6 separate regions of the Homo sapiens genome follow, and all the other regions are linked to region 3. The links are contacts of gene promoters, found by promoter capture Hi-C in blood cells and fetal thymus (Javierre and others, 2016). All regions are on one chromosome and are shown on one strand. Each heading gives the region's core, a stretch centred on a gene start or on the middle of the fragment in contact. The rest is flanking DNA. Distances are from core to core; before and after follow the strand shown. Region 1 overlaps USP7 (ubiquitin specific peptidase 7). Region 2 has its middle 52 kb from the start of USP7. Region 3 holds the start of METTL22 (methyltransferase 22, Kin17 lysine). Region 4 overlaps USP7 (ubiquitin specific peptidase 7). Region 5 overlaps HAPSTR1 (HUWE1 associated protein modifying stress responses). Region 6 has its middle 28 kb from the start of USP7.

Region 1 (2,700 bases), core at 126-2,625, 290 kb before region 3:
CAGGACCAACTTCCACCCCACCCCGTGTTGACCTCTGAGGAAATCGAGGTTTTCCTTGTCATTCTGCCACATCAGCCAGCCATTCACATTTGTGCATCTCTGCTTTTGAGACCAAGGGGTTGTCCACACTGCCCAATTCCAAGCTGTCTTCATAATCATAGCTTTACAGTATGTGCTTTGTTCGAATAACAGTAAAACCTTAACTGTTACCTCCATATTGTCATTTTAATGTCCTTAAGAAAGATACCAATGACCTTTGGCCAATGAGCAAAGGTGCTAACAGCACATTTACCTACAGTCTTGGCTACAGGGGGAGAGTTACTGTTAGTGTTGTTTACCTTCTCTGCTAATCCTAAATATGCTGATTTAAATAACTTACACCTGTGTTGGCTACATTATAAATGAAGCTTTAGCACTTGACTTTTCTCTCTCTCTCTTTAAAGTATTTGAATCATTTGTGGATTATGTGGCAGTAGAACAGCTCGATGGGGACAATAAATACGACGCTGGGGAACATGGCTTACAGGTAAATTGAGTGTTTTGTGCTAGTGTCCTGTTGTAGCGTTCTTCTTTATTTTCAATTCTTTTAATTGCTAAATAAAAATTTGCTTGTGCCTTTTCATGTGTTTCTGGTATTTAGAATATACAAGGATTCTGTTTGTAGGATAATTGAATGGGGAGGGAGAGGGGGATGTTGGGAGATGGAGTGCAGCTGGTTTATCCTGTAGAAGCACATCCAGCAGTCCGGAGGGTCTTGTGGGGTTTTAGGCATCTTGTCCTTTCCCCGTTCCTCACCTTACTGGTGTCACTGCTCCAGTTTTCCCTCAGTTTCTCCTGGTCACAAGTGGGATTTCTTAGTAAGTTGGACTGTGTTTAGGTTGTGTTTCTTTATTTTTAAATGTATTTTTAATGAATTTAGTTTTCTGAGGATCACGACTTTAGAATGAGTAGTGTGTTCTCTAGGGTTGTGTCCCCCAGGTTTCTGGGCATCTGAGAGAGCAGTGAGCATGGTGGGCGACCAGGTGGCCAGCCCCCGCTTGGATGAAGGGAAATGGGCTGTTTCTGGCTGCTGGTCTGGCTGGTCTGTTGGATCTGCAGTGTCCTCATGGATCCAGTGATCCAGGGTCTGTTTTGTAATCTTATAACCTTGACTCATTGACTCAACTAATTTATAATTAAAAATGTCAGTCTGGCCTGTGCTTACAAAGCCTGCCAGTGTATATAGTTCATGGTGCCTGTGTACCCATTTTGTAGTCAGCTGTCAGCTCCAAATGTACTCTTCTGCTAGGTCAGTCCAGTTGGACTGAGGGACTGAGGTATAGATCAGAAAGTTGCTTTTTTTTCTGAGACGGAGACTCGGTCTGTTCCCCAGGCTAGAGTGCAGTGGCGCGATCTCGACTCACTGCAACCTCTGCCTCCTGGGTTCAAGTGATTCTTCTACCTCAGCCTCCCAAGTAGCTGGGACTACAGGCGCCCGCCACTATGCCCAACTAATTTTTGTATTTTTAGTAGAGATGGGGTTTCACCATATTGGCCAGGCAGGTCTCAAACCCCTGACCTTGTGATCCGCCTGCCTCGGCCTCCCAAAGTGCTGGGATTACAGGCATGAGCCACTTGCTCATCCAGAAAGTTGCTTTTTAATGAGAACTTGGTGTGATGAAGAAATATTCTGGTCTGTTGACGAGAATTACTGTTCTCTATTCTGGATGTTTTAGGGTCTGGTTGAGCAGTATGTATTTGAGTCGAAGCCTCAGTGGACAGCGGTGGAGACAGAATCCTTTTATCTTTCAGACTGTATTAAAAACAGGTCCTTCCCCACTGTGGAGAGGGGTTCTGAGGTCTGTTTTTGTCTTTCCTGAGATAGCTCTGTCCTCTTAAATGAGCTGATGTACACCAAAGAACCTTGGCATATGGGTGTGCCTTGTCATGGTCCCCAGTTCCTCCAGGTCTCTCGCTGGCTGCTGGGCAGGTGGATTTCCAGCCAGAAGGAAGGTCTGCATTGGAAATAGAGCTGTGAGTCAGACATGGAGTGAGGGCCCCTGACCGCCTGGCCGTGGTCGAGATAGGCAAAGCCTGATTTTACTGAGGAACAAAGAGCTGGCCAAGATGGAGCAGTGATAGAGCAGGGCAAGAGCTTAGAGTCCGGTGTCCCCATAGAAGGCTTGTTGAGAAGTTGGGGTGTCCTGTCCCACAGAGTCCGGCAGTCAGCTGGGGAAGGGCCTTGCTGACACTGAATCAGAACATTTTCTTAGAAGTGGGATTGAACCATAAGCCCTAAGGGCGTGCCCTGTGATATATGGGTTCTTATGCAAACATCAAAGAGCCCAAGGAAAGGAAGCTTATAATCCTGCCGACTCATCAGTTGTGTTCATTGCTGCTTGTTCTGTTTGGGCATTTCATAAGCATACCTAATCTTGGGTAATTGTAACCAGAGTTTTCTGATTTTCCATTTAATGATTTTTCTGTGGTTCTCCATAATTTGCACAGTGTTTAATGACTGTATAACACAGCAGCAAATGACTGTCTAAATTTCCTTAACCATTTCTTCCCTGATTGCTGGGCATCGAGTTAGAATATAATCCAAGGTAAGAGAATCTCTCACAGTCAGTGCTGGTGCAGCATTATTTTAATAAACAAAGAGACCCATAAACAGACCTAAAGAAAACATTTCAAAGATGCCCTAAATGGACACCTAAACTT
Region 2 (2,700 bases), core at 195-2,694, 390 kb before region 3:
ATGTCTCTGAAAACTTTGAGGGTTTCTGGAAAGAGCTCTGGATTTGCAGCCAAGATTCCCTGTGACAGACCCTGGGTGACTTTGCTTTTTTTTTTTTTTTTTGAGACGGAGTTTCGCTCTGGTTGCCCAGGCAGGAATGCAATGGCATGATCTTGGCTCACCGCAACCACCACCTCCCGGGTTCAAGTGATTCTCCTGCCTCAACCTCCTGAGTAGCTGGGATTACAAGCATGCGCCACCATGCCTGGCTAATTTTGTATTTTTAGTAGTGACGGGGTTTCTCCATGTTGGTCAGGCTAGTCTCGAATTCCCGACCTCAGGTGATCCACCCACCTTGGCCTCCCAAAGTGCTGGGATTACAGGCATGAGCCACTGCGCCCGGTCTGAGATTTACTTCTAGCCAATACACTATGATATTGTTGTTGGATGCAATGGTTCACGCCTGTAATCCCAGCGCTTTGGGAAGCCAAGGCAAGAGGATCATTTGAGGCCAGGAGTTCGAGGTTACAGTGAGCTACTATTGCATCACTGCACTCTAGCCTGGGTGACAGAGTGAAACCCTGTCTCTAAAGAAAAAAAATAGAATATGACATTGCTAATATAATTAAGGTCAGAAACTGGGCTGGGCACAGTGGCTCACATCTGTAATCCTAGCACTTTGGGAAGCTGAGGCAAGTGAATCACTTGAACCCAGGAGTTTGAGACCAGCCTGGGCAATATAGCAAGACCCCAAGTCTACAGAAAATACAAAAATACAGGTGTGGTGGTGCACACCTGTAGTCTCAGCTACTTGGGAGGCTGAGGTGGGAGGATCGCTTGAGTCCAGAAGGCAGAGGCTGCAGTTAGCCAAGATCCCATCACTGCACTCCAGCCTGGGCAACAGAGTGAGACTCTCTGTTTTTTTCTTGTTTGTTTGTTTGTTTGTTTTTGGTTGTTTGTTTTTTTGAGACGGAGTTTCTTGTTGCCCAGGCTGGAGTGCAATGGCGTGATCTTGGCTCACAACCTCTGCCTCCCGGGTTCAAGCGATTCTCCTGCTTCAGCCCCCCGAGTAGCTGGGATTACAGGCATGTGCCACCACGCCCGGCTAATTTTGTATTTTTAGTAGAGATGGGGTTTCTCCATGTTGGTCATGCTGGTCTCAAACCCTCGATCTCAGGTGATTCTCCCGCCTGTACCTTCCAAAGTACTAGCATTACAGGCATGAGCCACCGCGCCCGGCCAAGTTATGATACTGGTTTGGCTGCTGTGACAAAGGTCAAACTAATAGGGGCTAAAATGAGATAAAGGTTTGTTTTTCTCTTAAGTCACCTCCATCCAGGACTGATAGGCCAGTTCCGCAGTGTCAGAGATTCAGGCTGATACATCCTAGTCCACAGTGGCTACTCCAGGCTGCGGTGGCTCACACCTGTAATCTCAGCACTTTGGGAGGCCAAGGCGGGCAGATCACTTGAGATCAGCAGTTCAGACCAGCCTGGCTAACATGGTGAAACCCCATCTCTACTAAAAATATAAAAAAATTAGCCTGGCGTGGTGGCGGGCACCTGTAATCCCAGATACTAGGGAGGCTGAGGCCTGAAAATCGCTTGAACCCAAGAGGTGGAGGTTGCAGTGAGCTGAGATTGTGCCACTGCACTCCAGCCTGGATGATGGAGTAAGGCTCTGTCTCAAAAAAATTTTTTTAAAAGGGCTACTGCAGCTGGGCGCAGTGGCTCTCACCTGTAATCCCAGCACTTTGGGAGGCTGAGGCAGGCAGATCACTTGAGGTCAGGAGTTTGAGACCAGCCTGGCCAACATGGTGAAACCCCGTTTCTACTAAAAATACAAAAATTAGCCGGGTGTGGTGGTGCACACCTATAATCCCAGCTACTCAGAAGGCTGAGGCAGGAGAATTGCTTGAACCAGGGAGGCAGAGATTGCAGTGAGGCAAGATTGCGCCACTGCACTCTACTCTGGATGACAGAGACTTTGTCTCCAAAAAAAAAAAAAAAAAGGGCTACTTCAGTACCCACCATCACACTAACAATCCAGCCAGCAGGAAGTAAAAATGGAGAGCATGCTTGTTTCTTTTAAGGCCACGACCTAGAAGTTGGACGTGTCACTTTGCTCACATTCTATGAGCCAGAGTTTAATCAAGTGGCAAACACGGTCTCCTCTGAGTGCTCAGGTAACACACAGGGACCTAGTACTGAAGAAAGAAGAGGAGAATGGCTATCAGGGGAAAGTTAGAATTCACTGCCACAAGCTGAAGGAAGAAAATCTCAGGCAGAAGGAATTACAATTGCATGCACACACAGGCTTTCAGAGCAAATGATACTTGAGCTGGGTATTAAAGATGTTTGGAGTGAGCTGGGTGGAGAGGGCAGCCTGGGTAGAAGCAAGGAGACCAGAAAGATGCCAGTGTCTGGAGACAAGAAGCCCAGTGTGCCTGGAGCACTGACAGCAACACAAATCTTGAGATGCAGCTGCCACCCTCCCTGTGTTATAGGTAAATAAAGCTCAGAGAGGTTCAGAAACTTGGCCAGGATCACAGGCTGGACTCTGTGAGGCTCAGGTGTAGTCAGGATTCAACTGATGAGGTCAAGAATCAAACCCAGGCTTATAGGATGCCTGCAGGCTTACAGTTTTTCTCTGCTCAGTAGGATTTTGGGTTTTGTTTTGTTCTCTGCATAAAATCACTAGTTCTCAGTCCTGGCTGCACAT
Region 3 (2,700 bases), core at 24-2,523:
AAAAGTGAGCATAATATTACACACCAAATTTTAAGTATAGACACACACAAAAAAACTCAAATTCTTAATCTCTAGTTGAATTTTCCATTTTTAAATTCAACCCAACCAGGCTTCCCAAGAAATGTACGCTGCAATGTAAGTTCCAGATGAAGGAGATTCCCTTTAAGTGGCTTTCCCTAGAATCAGCTATCTGGGAATAAGGAGGCCCTCTTGAACCTATCTCAGGCCCTCATATACTCAGAGGAGTATATGAGACAATTACCACTTTTCGGGCTTACGACATATAGTAAACGTTCAATAAGCAACAATAGTAAATACTATCATTATAGTAATATAATAATGATTAAAGTGAATGCTGGGAAGAAAGAAAAAAGGTAACAGTTTCTCTAGTCAGGAAAAGTCTCTTTCCGGAAATGCAGGGTCTGTATGGGCTTCGGGCTCCTCTCTTTACTGGGCAGAGCTGAGAAAGGAGACCCAGGTTGCAGATGGGGACCTGCCCCACCACCTCTCCATAGGGCTGCAGGCTCATCCCTGCAGCAGGAGCTAACGTGTTCTTGGCTCTTCTAAGGCTGTGGGGGCTAGACTGAGACGCTACCAGCTTTCTTCTCCTATAGGTCCCCAGTCAGTTGTCCCAAATAAGCAGTGTGCTGGGATCACGGTGTTGAAATAACTTCCCTCCTCATCTTTCTTTCTGATAACTGCAACTCACTCAACAATCAATAATTTGGCGCGATCCCATGACGATTTAGGCCAGGAGCTGGGGAGGGCAGGGTGTGAAGGCCCAGGCTGGGGGCAGGAAAGACGTGGCCTGGCCACGGTGCGTAGAGTGGTAGTGAGGGGCTCCGGGGACGTCCCCCGTGGGGCTACTCGTTCTCTTTGTCTTGTCGCCTTCCTGACGCCACCCTTGTGGGTTAACTATTGCCCTCTCAAAAAACAGTCACAGGTCGGGCACTGCCCTCCCTTCCTAATCTAGAACCGAAGGAGAGGTGCCTGGACCCAGGATGGAAACCCAGGTGAGGACGTGGACTTCTTTCCCCAACACCCGTGTTGAGAAGGGGAAACTGACGCTAAGAGTGGGGTCGGGCCTTAGGGATCTGGGCCTCCGATCTGTGGGAGCTCGGATTTCAAAGTCAGGCTCGGCGCCAGGAGGTTCCCTGCACCCTACCCTATCCCGCCGCCTCTCCCAGGCACTTACCCGCCGCGGGGCCCAGCCTGGGATCCCACCCGACTCCCGTCTCTGTGGGACTTAGGCGGCCGCCATAACAGGCGGTCTGCGCAGGCGCGGCCCCGCCCCCGCGTGCGACCATCCGACTGCCCCGCACCGTGGCTCCACCTACCTGCCCGGGCCGCGCATGCGTCCGAGGGTTGCCGGCGGGCACCTGTAGCCTTCGCTCTGGTCGCGGGCGAGGCGTGTTTGCTGGGGGGACCCGCCTAGGTGGCTAAACTCATTCCTCTAAAAGACTTAAATAGGAGTTAAATAACTCTCCCAGCTACTAAGTGGTAAAGCCTGGATTCGAACCCGGGGTGTGGGATCAGAGCCGGTGCTATTTAACCAGCATGCTACTGTATTTATTATCACGGGTGTTACCGTCATCCATGCTCTTAGTACTCGTTTGTTTGTTTGTTTGTTTATTTGAGATGGTCTTGCTCTGTCACCCAGGCTGGAGTGCAGCGGCGCAATTTTAGCTCACTGCAGCCTTGAACTCCTGGGCTTAAGGAATCCTGTTTCAGCCTCTCTAGTAGCTGGGACTACAGTTGCGTGGCACCATTTTTTTTTTTTTTTGTACAGACTGTATCTTGTTGTGTTGCCCAGGCTGGTCTCAAACTCCTGGCTTCAAGCAGTCCTCCTGCTTCGGCCTCCTAAAGCTCATAAATTACAGGCATGAGCCACCACGCCCAGCCAGTACTTGTTATTATTAATAGGTGGTAGTGATTTCATTAGGTGGTAGTGATTTCGTTAATTCGTATGCTCATCAAGTTTCCAACACCAAGGGGGTGAGACAGAGTGGCAAACATAAGACTCCATGTTTGCTCGTTTTTTCTTGCCTGCAGAATTTCAGAAAGCCTCTGAGTCCGTGACTGAGCACAGCCCTCAGAAGAATCCCCTGAAGAGGATGAGCAGGATAGACCACAGATTCTCACGTCTCTTGCCTGAGTCACTGCATTTTTAGAAAAAGTACAGTCAATAATATTGGCCCTTTTCTCAATCTATATATTCAGTGACATCATGGAAGTCAGCCTGGCCACAATGGAGTAAGCCAGGGGATGGGCCGCAGGAAACGAGGATACATAGGTAGCCAGGGTTAGAACTTTTGTGACATTCTAAGAACTTTGGATTTTACTGTGCGTGAGATGGGGAGCTGCCAGGGATATACACCACACTGACGTGTTCACAGACATGCCCAGACACACACAGTGGTGCTCACTCTCAGACATGTCAGTGAACATACAAATATACACACAGGAACATATGTAAAGTCCACATATGTAAAATCTATATCCCTGTGTGTTCACATATACACACACGCACACACATGGCCTCAGCTGGCAACCTTTGTCTAAATTACTTTTTTTTCTCTTTTCAAAATAGAATTAAATCAACATCAATTTCATGGTTACTGATGATAAAACGTGGAGAGTTGATAGGGTGACTAAGCGACACAAATAAGAATTTTTTTTTTTTTTTTTTTTAAGAAACAG
Region 4 (2,700 bases), core at 80-2,579, 270 kb before region 3:
TGGGCTGTCCCTAGTGGGCACGAGTGGCTCGGCTGCCTTCCTGGGGTCCCGTGCACCAGCCCTGCAGCTAGCAAGTCTTGTGTTTAGGCTCGTCTGACCTATTTCCTTCAGTTATACTTTCAATGACCTTTTGTGCATCTGTTAAGGCAAAACAGAGAAACTCACAACCTAATAAATAGCGCTCTTCCCTTCATTGTGTGCATTGTCGGCCCTTCCTCGGGTTCTCCTCCTCCAGCTGCCTGGGGGCTTTTTAATAAACTTGTCTCACCTCGTCAGCCACTACTGTCTGCAGCCCCTTTGCAAAGTGGATGCACTGAATACAGTCCGGACAGACATTGTGGGGGTCTTTTTATTAAATCAAGAACATTGTTAAATTCAATTAAGGTTTACTCTGCTGCCTTGGCAGACTTACGATCTCAACAGTTCATACGAGCAGGTGAAAGGATTATAAATAGAATTTCGTTAAAGTGGAACAGACGACAAGAAAGCCTTTTAGCAAGAGGGCATGCTCACTAGTGGTTAGTAAGCTGTCGACTTTGTAAAAAAGTTAAAAATGAAAAAAAAAGGAAAAATGAATTGTATATTTAATGAATGAACATGTACAATTTGCCACTGGGAGGAGGTTCCTTTTTGTTGGGTGAGTCTGCAAGTGAATTTCACTGATGTTGATATTCATTGTGTGTAGTTTTATTTCGGTCCCAGCCCCGTTTCCTTTTATTTTGGAGCTAATGCCAGCTGCGTGTCTAGTTTTGAGTGCAGTAAAATAGAATCAGCAAATCACTCTTATTTTTCATCCTTTTCCGGTATTTTTTGGGTTGTTTCTGTGGGAGCAGTGTACACCAACTCTTCCTGTATATTGCCTTTTTGCTGGAAAATGTTGTATGTTGAATAAAATTTTCTATAAAAATTATAATTCAGTGAGTTACGTGGAAGTGGAGGAAGATTTCTACTCTCCCTGGAAACAGGCCTGGGAAACCTTGGCATTTGTAACAAGGTTTCACTGAGATGTACTTTTCCTTCTAATTCCGTTTTGCGGGGGCAGGGTCTCTTGTTTCTTTTTTTTTTTTTTTTTTTTTTTAGCCTCTAACTAGTCACATTTACTCTTAAGAAATGAAAGGTTTTCCAGGAGAGAACTGTGTACAAATAAGGTGACTGGAGATGTGACCTGATGTGTCACGAGGCCCTTCGGGGCGGCAGGCGCTATCGTGGGCGTGGTCCTTGCACCGTCCCATCGGCCTTGCCTTCCAGCTCCGTGGCACGGTTTCCTGGTCTTTGGGCCAGTGTGTACCTTGGAGTGACTTCCTTTCTCAACTTCCACTGCAGTGTGTGTGCCTTCTGCTCTGAGAGCTGCCTTGTGACCCGTGTGATAGAAAGCAGGGAGTGAGGGTCCCCGCGGACCTGGCCCTTCCCTCCTTCCTCCCCCAGAAAGAGGAGTTAGAGCAGGGGTGCGAGAGCCGTTCGCTGTGGGTTTGTCTTTGAACAAACATTAAGGTGTCTTGTTTTTGTTCTGGGCTGGGGGTTGGCTGTAGTCTTAGGTAACTGAAAGTTCCTACTCTCCCTTAAGGTATTAAATGACTCTTTTTCCAAAGAACGTGTTGTAATGTTTCCGTCATCTGCCGCGTTCCCTTTTCCACTCACTCGCAGTTACAGTGTCAGGAGTTTGAGTTTGTTAAACTGGTTCTGGGGAGACAAGCTGAAATTTTAAAGAAAGAAAAATGAACTCCCCTTCTCCGGCCTCACTGTAACCCCTGGGACTATTGTGTCCTCTCCCTCTGTGGGGTGTGGATGCCATCTGTTGACAGCATTCGGAGTCTTCACAGCGGGGAGCCCTGAAAACCACTGCGTGACAGCAAGGGCCTGCGGTCACAGTGGCCCTTCCCACGCCCTCACACACAAGAGCAGCGAGCTGAAGCAGTCTTGTTTCAAAATGAGAAGAGCAGCCAGGCGCGGTGGCTCGTGCTGTGAGCAAAGCCCAAGGGAGACACTATGGGACCTGGCAGAGTCCCCTGCAACGTGGGTGCCTTGACAGGGCGAGAAGCCACGTCTAGACACCATCGCTTCCTGATGGAGGCCCTGACCCAGCTTCTCTTTCACCAGACGGCAAGGACATTTGGCGTCATACATAACATCACTCATTTGCTGTGAGGCAAATGTTTATGGTGCCAGGGATGGAAATTGTGAGTAGTTTAAAGTCTTAACTCTGAAACCACCTTCACAGTTAAAGCAAATGCGATAAAACCTATAGCACCTGGGCCGGATGCGGTGGCTCACACCTGTAATCCCAGCACTTTGGGAGGCTTGAGATCGGTGGATCACTTGAGGTCAGGAGTTCAAGACCAGCTTGGCCAGCATGGTGAAACCTTGTCTCTACTGAAAACGCAAAAATTAGCCGGGCATGGTGGTAGACACCTGCAGTCCCAGCTGCTCGGGAGGCTGAGGCCAGAGAATCACTTGAACCCAGGAGGCAGAGGTTGCAGTGAGCTGAGATCGTGCCACTGCACTCCAGCCTGGGTGACAGCGTGAGGGAGACTCCGTCTCAAAGCCATAGCACCTGAAGGTTCCTTGAATTACTAAGGTGAGGTGTGTAAGTAAGACATCTCTCTTGTGGTTTGGGCTTAGGCTAGGGTCAGAGTTGGTAAACTTTCTGTAAAAGGCCAGAGTAGGTATTGTGTGATGGTCTCTGTTGGGACTCTCAGCTCT
Region 5 (2,700 bases), core at 201-2,700, 500 kb before region 3:
GCTGGAGGCCAGTGCAGAACCCAGAAGCGAGCCCTCGGACTCTGAGAAGGGAATCTTATCCAGCCATGCCACGACAAGCACATTTAAAGGCTAACATCTGAGTCCTCACTTCGCACCAGGCATGGTGCTAGGCATCCTCCACACCATAACCTTGAGGGAGGGGCCCGGGAGGCAGGCCGCCAGTGGGACTGTCACCTACACCCTACTGACCCCAAAGTCCTTCTCTTCACCACCACCCTAGTTCTTGACAGACCTAAGGCCCAGGAAGAGGAAAAATAGGGAGTTCCTTGTGAAAACCTAGAAAACTTCAAGCCACCTTTTATGAACTCATTCAAGAAATGTCTATACCTACCCTGTGCTGCATGCTGAGGTCCAGAGAGCCCAGGTTTTCAAGCTGGCTGTGAAATCAACACAGTTGGTCACATACAACATCCTGTTCAGTGAAACAGCAAGAAGCTATAAAGTGCATTTGACATAAAAAGCTAAGAACTGCTGAGACCTGTTTCATCAGTTCTGTGTGTTCATTCACAAAAGGTGTGGCTGGGTAAAAGATCTTGATGGGAGAGGTATTTCTTACCACAGATCATAGTCCAGTATGTCTGAGAAACACTGAGGATGGGCAAGAGGCGAGCCTTCCTGTGCCCAATGCAATTGTGTACGCAAACACAGTTCTATACAACATTCACATTAACCTAAGAGACCCCAAACAGCAAATAAGAACTTCTTGGTAGTTACAAATTTCTACATACACCTTGAAATCAACATGGCCATGGTGATCTTGAGACTCACCATGGGGAAAAGAGTTTGGGAGTGATTAAGCTCCTGCCCACTACACTCAAGGACAGTTTAGCAGGTGATCCCCTTTTCCCCAGGGAACTTCAGCCCTGGCACCGCCACTCCTGAGGAAGAGGTATGAATGGTCTTAGAATCCTTCCTTAAAGCTCTAAGTTATAGTGGCACATACCTTGGTGGGTTTATAGAGGGCATTCAGATTATGAGTCCACAAGCAAATAGTTCTGAGTGTTGAGCCCACTGGACCCACCGGTGCCAAAAGCAGCCCAGTGGTAGCTGGCTGCCCCAGGCACCCCCAAACCCTTCTTCCAGGGTCAAGCTACAAAACTCTTGTCAGCCAGCTGAGCCCTCCTTGTTGCTGAAGCTGCAGAAAACCACAGGCCTTCTGAAGCTCCCAAAGGCAATTCCACTAAGTGATGAGAGCCCCAACACTTCCAGCAGCAACTCAGAGAACACGCCCACCAGGCCTAAAACACAAGCAAATGCTACGGCCCTCCCCAACAGCGGCCGTGCACAGCAACCACACCAGCACCCCATACTCCCTCTACTTGGGCTAAAGGGGAGTAGCTTCCCTGCTTGAGGGTTAAGTACTAGTGAAGTGAGGCAGCCTGTACTTGCCGGCCTGTGGCATCTCCTAGGAGGGCATTCAACTTCAGTTTGAAAAATTAAAATCTCTCTTACATGTGAACAAGCCCCTTCCCTGAAAACTCACCACTTAGTGTGTTACCTATCGAGGCTGCAGTGAGCTATGATCGCACCAAAGCACTCCAGCCTAGGCAAGAGAGTAAAACCCTGTCTCAAAGAAAAAAGAAAGGGCTAATTTTTCTTTTTCTTTTTTTTAGACGGAGTCTTGCTCTGTCGCCAGGCTGGAGTGCAGTGGTGCAATCTTTGCTCACCGCAACCTCTCCACCTCCCGGATTCAAGTGATTCTCCTGTCTCAGCCTCCCAAGTAGCTGGGACTACAGGTGCGTACCACCACGCCCAGCTAATTTTTGTATTTTTAGTAGAGATGGGGTTTCACCATGTTGGCCAGGATGGTCTCAATCTCTTGTGACCTCGTGATCTGCCCGCCTTGGCCTCCCAGTGCTGGGATTACAGGCGTGAGCCACCACGCCTAGCCAAAAAGGGCTAATTTTTCAATGGCATGTTAAGATAAGCTATCAGCCACATTCCAGAGTTCTCCAGGGCTCTGCTGATGGGAGAATTATAAATGGAGATGTAAATGTATCCAACTTCCAAGGAACACAAGTCACTAACATTCACATTTTTTAATTTATTTTTCTATGTTTTCTATTTATTTCACAGATGAGAAAACAGCCCAGAGAGGCAAACTTACCTAGGTTCCCAGACCTGGTAGTAGAGTCAGCATTCAAACCCACGTGATATCAAGCAAAAAGTCTTCCTTCATACGAGCAGGTAAAAAACAGATTAAAACTGAAAGGTCACTTCTGCCAAAGGAAGTATAAATACCCAACACTGGCTACGATGTAAGGGAACAGGCGCTCTTACTTTCTGATGGAAGTATTAACTGGTACCTTGCAGAAGGTACTTTGGCAAGACCCATCAGTATTTTATAGATGAATTTTTTTGACCCAGATAGTTCATCTACAGAAATTTGTCATAGAGAAACTTAAAACATAGGCCAGGCGCAGTGTCTCATGCCTGTAATCCCAGCACTTGGGGAGGCCAAGGCGGGCAGATCACTTAAGGTCAGGAATTCAAGACTGGCCTGGCCAACATGGTGAAATCCCGTCTCTACTAAAAATTCAAAATTAAATTAGCTGGGCGTGGTGGCGCACACCTGTAGTTATAGGCAGGAGAATCGCTTGAACCCGGGAGGCAGAGATTGCGGTGAGCTGGGATCGCACCACCGCACTCCAGCGACAGAGACTCCATCTCAAAAAACAA
Region 6 (2,732 bases), core at 209-2,708, 370 kb before region 3:
AGACTGCACCACTGCACTCCAGCCTGGGTGACAGAACAAGACCTTGTCTTTAAAAAGAAAATAAAAATCAAAAATAGCTGATTAGCAATCTTAATTTCTGCTTGACGTGAGGTAACATATGCACAGGTTCTGGGGATTAGGGTGTGGACATGTTTGGGGAGCCATGATTCTGCCCATCACAGCAGCCCTCTGAGGAAATGAGTAACTGGAGCAGCCGCACATCAGGTCTCATTTTGCATCTTACATAGAATCCGGCTCTGCTGGCCGCTGCGAGCCAGGGGCTACCCTGGGACGCAGAGTGCATGTGGTTGTCACAAACTGCAAGAGACAAAAATAAGCACGGTCTCTCAGAGGCATCCCTGACCTCTGCAGAGGAGACAGGGACCACCAGGTACCAAACCTGCTATCTGCTTTATCTTCCCACTGTGTTGATTTGCATAGGGATAGGGGAATAATCATCAATGTTTATAGCAATAAAATAAGAAGCAATGTTTATAGCATAAGTGGTGCCCTGCTTAAAATAAGCCTATTGTTTTGGGGGGGGTGATTTTTTTTTTTTATTGTTGTTGTTGTTTTGTTTTTTTGGGATGGAGTTTCGCTCTTGTTGCCCAGGCTGGAGTGCACTGGTGCAATCTCGGCTCACCGCAACCTCCACCTCCCAGGTTCAAGCAATTCTCCTGCCTCAGCCTCCCAAGTAGCTGGGACTACAGGTGCGCGCCACCATGCCTGGTTAATTTTTGTATTTTTAGTAGAAATGTGGTTTCATCATGTTGGCCAGGATGGTCTCCATCTTTTGACTTCGTGATCCACCCACCTCAGCCTCCCAAAGTGCTGGGATTACAGGCGTGACCCACCACGCCTGGCTGTTTTTCTCTTTTTCCTTTTTTTTTTTTTTTTTTTTTTTTTTTTTTTCAGACAGAGTCTTGCTCTGTCACTCAGCCTGGAGTGCAGTGGTGCCATCATGACTCACTGCAAACTCCACCTCCTGGGCTCAGAGATCCTCCCACCTAAGCCTCCTGTAGTTGGAACTATAGGCATGCGCCACCATGCCTGGTTGGACTTCCTGTTCTTTGTGCTCATGGGAACCTGCCATATGCTTATGGTGTCTAGTCGATGAAGGCAGCACAGCCTGGAGGTTAAACAGTCAGCCTTGAGTTCAAATCCCAGCTCTCCCACTTACCAGCTGGGATTGGCTGTTTCCTCTGAGAAATGGAGATGATTATTATAAAAATACTGTCTCCTGGGAGTGTTGTGAGGGTAAAAATGCAACTGCGATGCAAATGTCATGCAAATTTGCCTAGTAGGTCCTAAATAAATATTTGCTCTTGCTTTTACTATGATCTCAATAGGAGTGATTAGAAATTAAGAGCTCAGACATTTTCCAGACCCAGGTGATTCTATCAGCTGTTACAAAGGTGTGTGAAGAGAGAAAAGATATTCACGCCCAGTTTAGCCATCCCCATGTAAAATTAAAATACCTTTCTAAAAGCTGGACATGGCTGGAACCCAGGAGTTCAAGTCCAGTCTGGGCAATGTAGGGAGACCCTGTCTCTAGAAAAAATAAATTATGGGGCCGGGCGCGGTGGCTAATGCCTGTAATCCCAGCACTTTGGGAGGCCGAGGCAGGCGGATCACGAGGTCAGGAGATCAAGACTATCCTGGCTAACAGGTGAAACCCCGTCTCTACTAAAAACACACAAAAAAATTGGCCGGGCATGGTGGCAGGCACCTGTAGTCCCAGCTACTTGAGAGGCTGAGGCAGGAGAATGGCATGAACCCGGGAGGTGGAGCTTGCAGTGAGCTGAGATCATGCCACTGCACTCCAGCCTGGGTGACAGAGTGAGACTCCGTCTCAAAAAATTAATTAATTAATTAATAAAATACCATACAGGCTGGGCGTGGTGGCTTACGCCTGTAATCCCAGCAGTTTGGGAGGCTGAGGCAGGTTGATCACTTGAGGTCAGGAATTTGAGACCAGCCTGGCCAACATAGTGAAACCCTGTCTCTACTAAAAATACAAAAATTAGCCAAGCATGGTGGTGTGTGCCTGTAGTCCCAGCTACTTGGGAGGCTGAGGCAGGAGAATCGCTTGAACCCCAGAGGAGAAGGTTGCAGTGAGCCGAGATCACACCACTGCACTCCTGCCTGGGCAACAGAGCGAGACTGCGTCTAAAAATAATAATAATAGTAATAAAATACCATATTGCATTCCTAGGGTTTCTCAAAGGGTAGTCCAAGAATCACCTTTATTTTTCATCTTTATTTTTTTTGAGAGTGGGTCTCACTTTGTCGTCCAGGCTGGAGTGCAGCGTCGTGATCTTGGCTCACAGCAGCCTCGACCTCCTGGGCTCCAAGTGATCCTCGTTCCTCAGCTCCCCAGTTAGCCAGGACTACAAGCATGTGCCACCACACTCCGTTAATTTTTGTAGTTTTTTTGTGAGCTCAGGCGATCTGCCTGCCTTGGCCTCCCCTGGCCTCCCAATGCTGGGATTACAGGCGGAAGCCACTGTGCCCAGCCCATAAGAACCACCCTTCTGAGGCTGGGAGGGGAGCTGGTGAATACCGCAGAGGTAGGAGGACCGAGGAATCTGCATTTTAAAAACTCCCCAGGGATTCTTGGATTCTTATTCTTACTAAATATAAAAATAATTCTCTCTTTGTAAAGAATCTCAGCAGGAAAACGGAAATGACTGTCTATGTTTGGGTTTTGTTTGTTTTTGAGACAGGGTCTT

What was found. Contacts are between HindIII fragments. The CHiCAGO score rates a contact against its expected background, and 5 or more counts as called.
Region 1: a fragment that was not itself captured here is called in contact with the fragment with the promoter of METTL22 in region 3 in 9 of 17 cell types (neutrophils, total CD8 T cells, naive CD4 T cells and 6 more); the score reaches 10.5 in neutrophils.
Region 2: a contact is called between a fragment that was not itself captured here and the fragment with the promoter of METTL22 in region 3, in 1 of 17 cell types (neutrophils). The highest score is 5.5, in neutrophils.
Region 4: a fragment that was not itself captured here is called in contact with the fragment with the promoter of METTL22 in region 3 in 5 of 17 cell types (neutrophils, monocytes, activated CD4 T cells and 2 more); the score reaches 9.2 in neutrophils.
Region 5: a fragment that was not itself captured here is called in contact with the fragment with the promoter of METTL22 in region 3 in 4 of 17 cell types (total CD4 T cells, fetal thymus, neutrophils and 1 more); the score reaches 7.8 in total CD4 T cells.
Region 6: a contact is called between a fragment that was not itself captured here and the fragment with the promoter of METTL22 in region 3, in 1 of 17 cell types (non-activated CD4 T cells). The highest score is 5.2, in non-activated CD4 T cells.

Annotation. Positions count from the first base shown.
Region 1 is chr16:8,908,571-8,911,270 of GRCh38, reverse strand. It overlaps USP7 (ubiquitin specific peptidase 7), which reads left to right. Exons shown (of 31, transcript NM_003470.3): 11 at 444-526. Among named protein-coding and RNA genes, the nearest start is that of LITAFD, 28 kb to the right of the region's middle. The HindIII fragment of the contact is 1,931 bases long and covers 410-2,340 here.
Region 2 is chr16:9,014,219-9,016,918 of GRCh38, reverse strand. No RefSeq gene overlaps it. Among named protein-coding and RNA genes, the nearest start is that of USP7, 52 kb to the right of the region's middle. RefSeq lists a silencer at 1,113-1,407. The HindIII fragment of the contact is 6,077 bases long and covers 1-2,700 here.
Region 3 is chr16:8,620,271-8,622,970 of GRCh38, reverse strand. It overlaps METTL22 (methyltransferase 22, Kin17 lysine), which reads right to left and starts at 1,273. Exons shown (of 11, transcript NM_024109.4): 1 at 1,196-1,273. The HindIII fragment of the contact is 6,720 bases long and covers 1-2,700 here.
Region 4 is chr16:8,890,985-8,893,684 of GRCh38, reverse strand. USP7 (ubiquitin specific peptidase 7) reads left to right here. Exons shown (of 31, transcript NM_003470.3): 31 at 1-1,588. Among named protein-coding and RNA genes, the nearest start is that of LITAFD, 10 kb to the right of the region's middle. RefSeq lists enhancers at 1,298-1,527, 1,578-1,637, 1,708-1,857, 1,918-2,187. The HindIII fragment of the contact is 2,868 bases long and covers 1-2,700 here.
Region 5 is chr16:9,120,986-9,123,685 of GRCh38, reverse strand. HAPSTR1 (HUWE1 associated protein modifying stress responses) reads right to left here. Exons shown (of 4, transcript NM_014117.3): 4 at 2,051-2,700. Among named protein-coding and RNA genes, the nearest start is that of HAPSTR1, 31 kb to the right of the region's middle. RefSeq lists an enhancer at 1-197. The HindIII fragment of the contact is 6,607 bases long and covers 1-2,700 here.
Region 6 is chr16:8,990,435-8,993,166 of GRCh38, reverse strand. No RefSeq gene overlaps it. Among named protein-coding and RNA genes, the nearest start is that of USP7, 28 kb to the right of the region's middle. RefSeq lists an enhancer at 881-1,175. The HindIII fragment of the contact is 9,740 bases long and covers 1-2,732 here.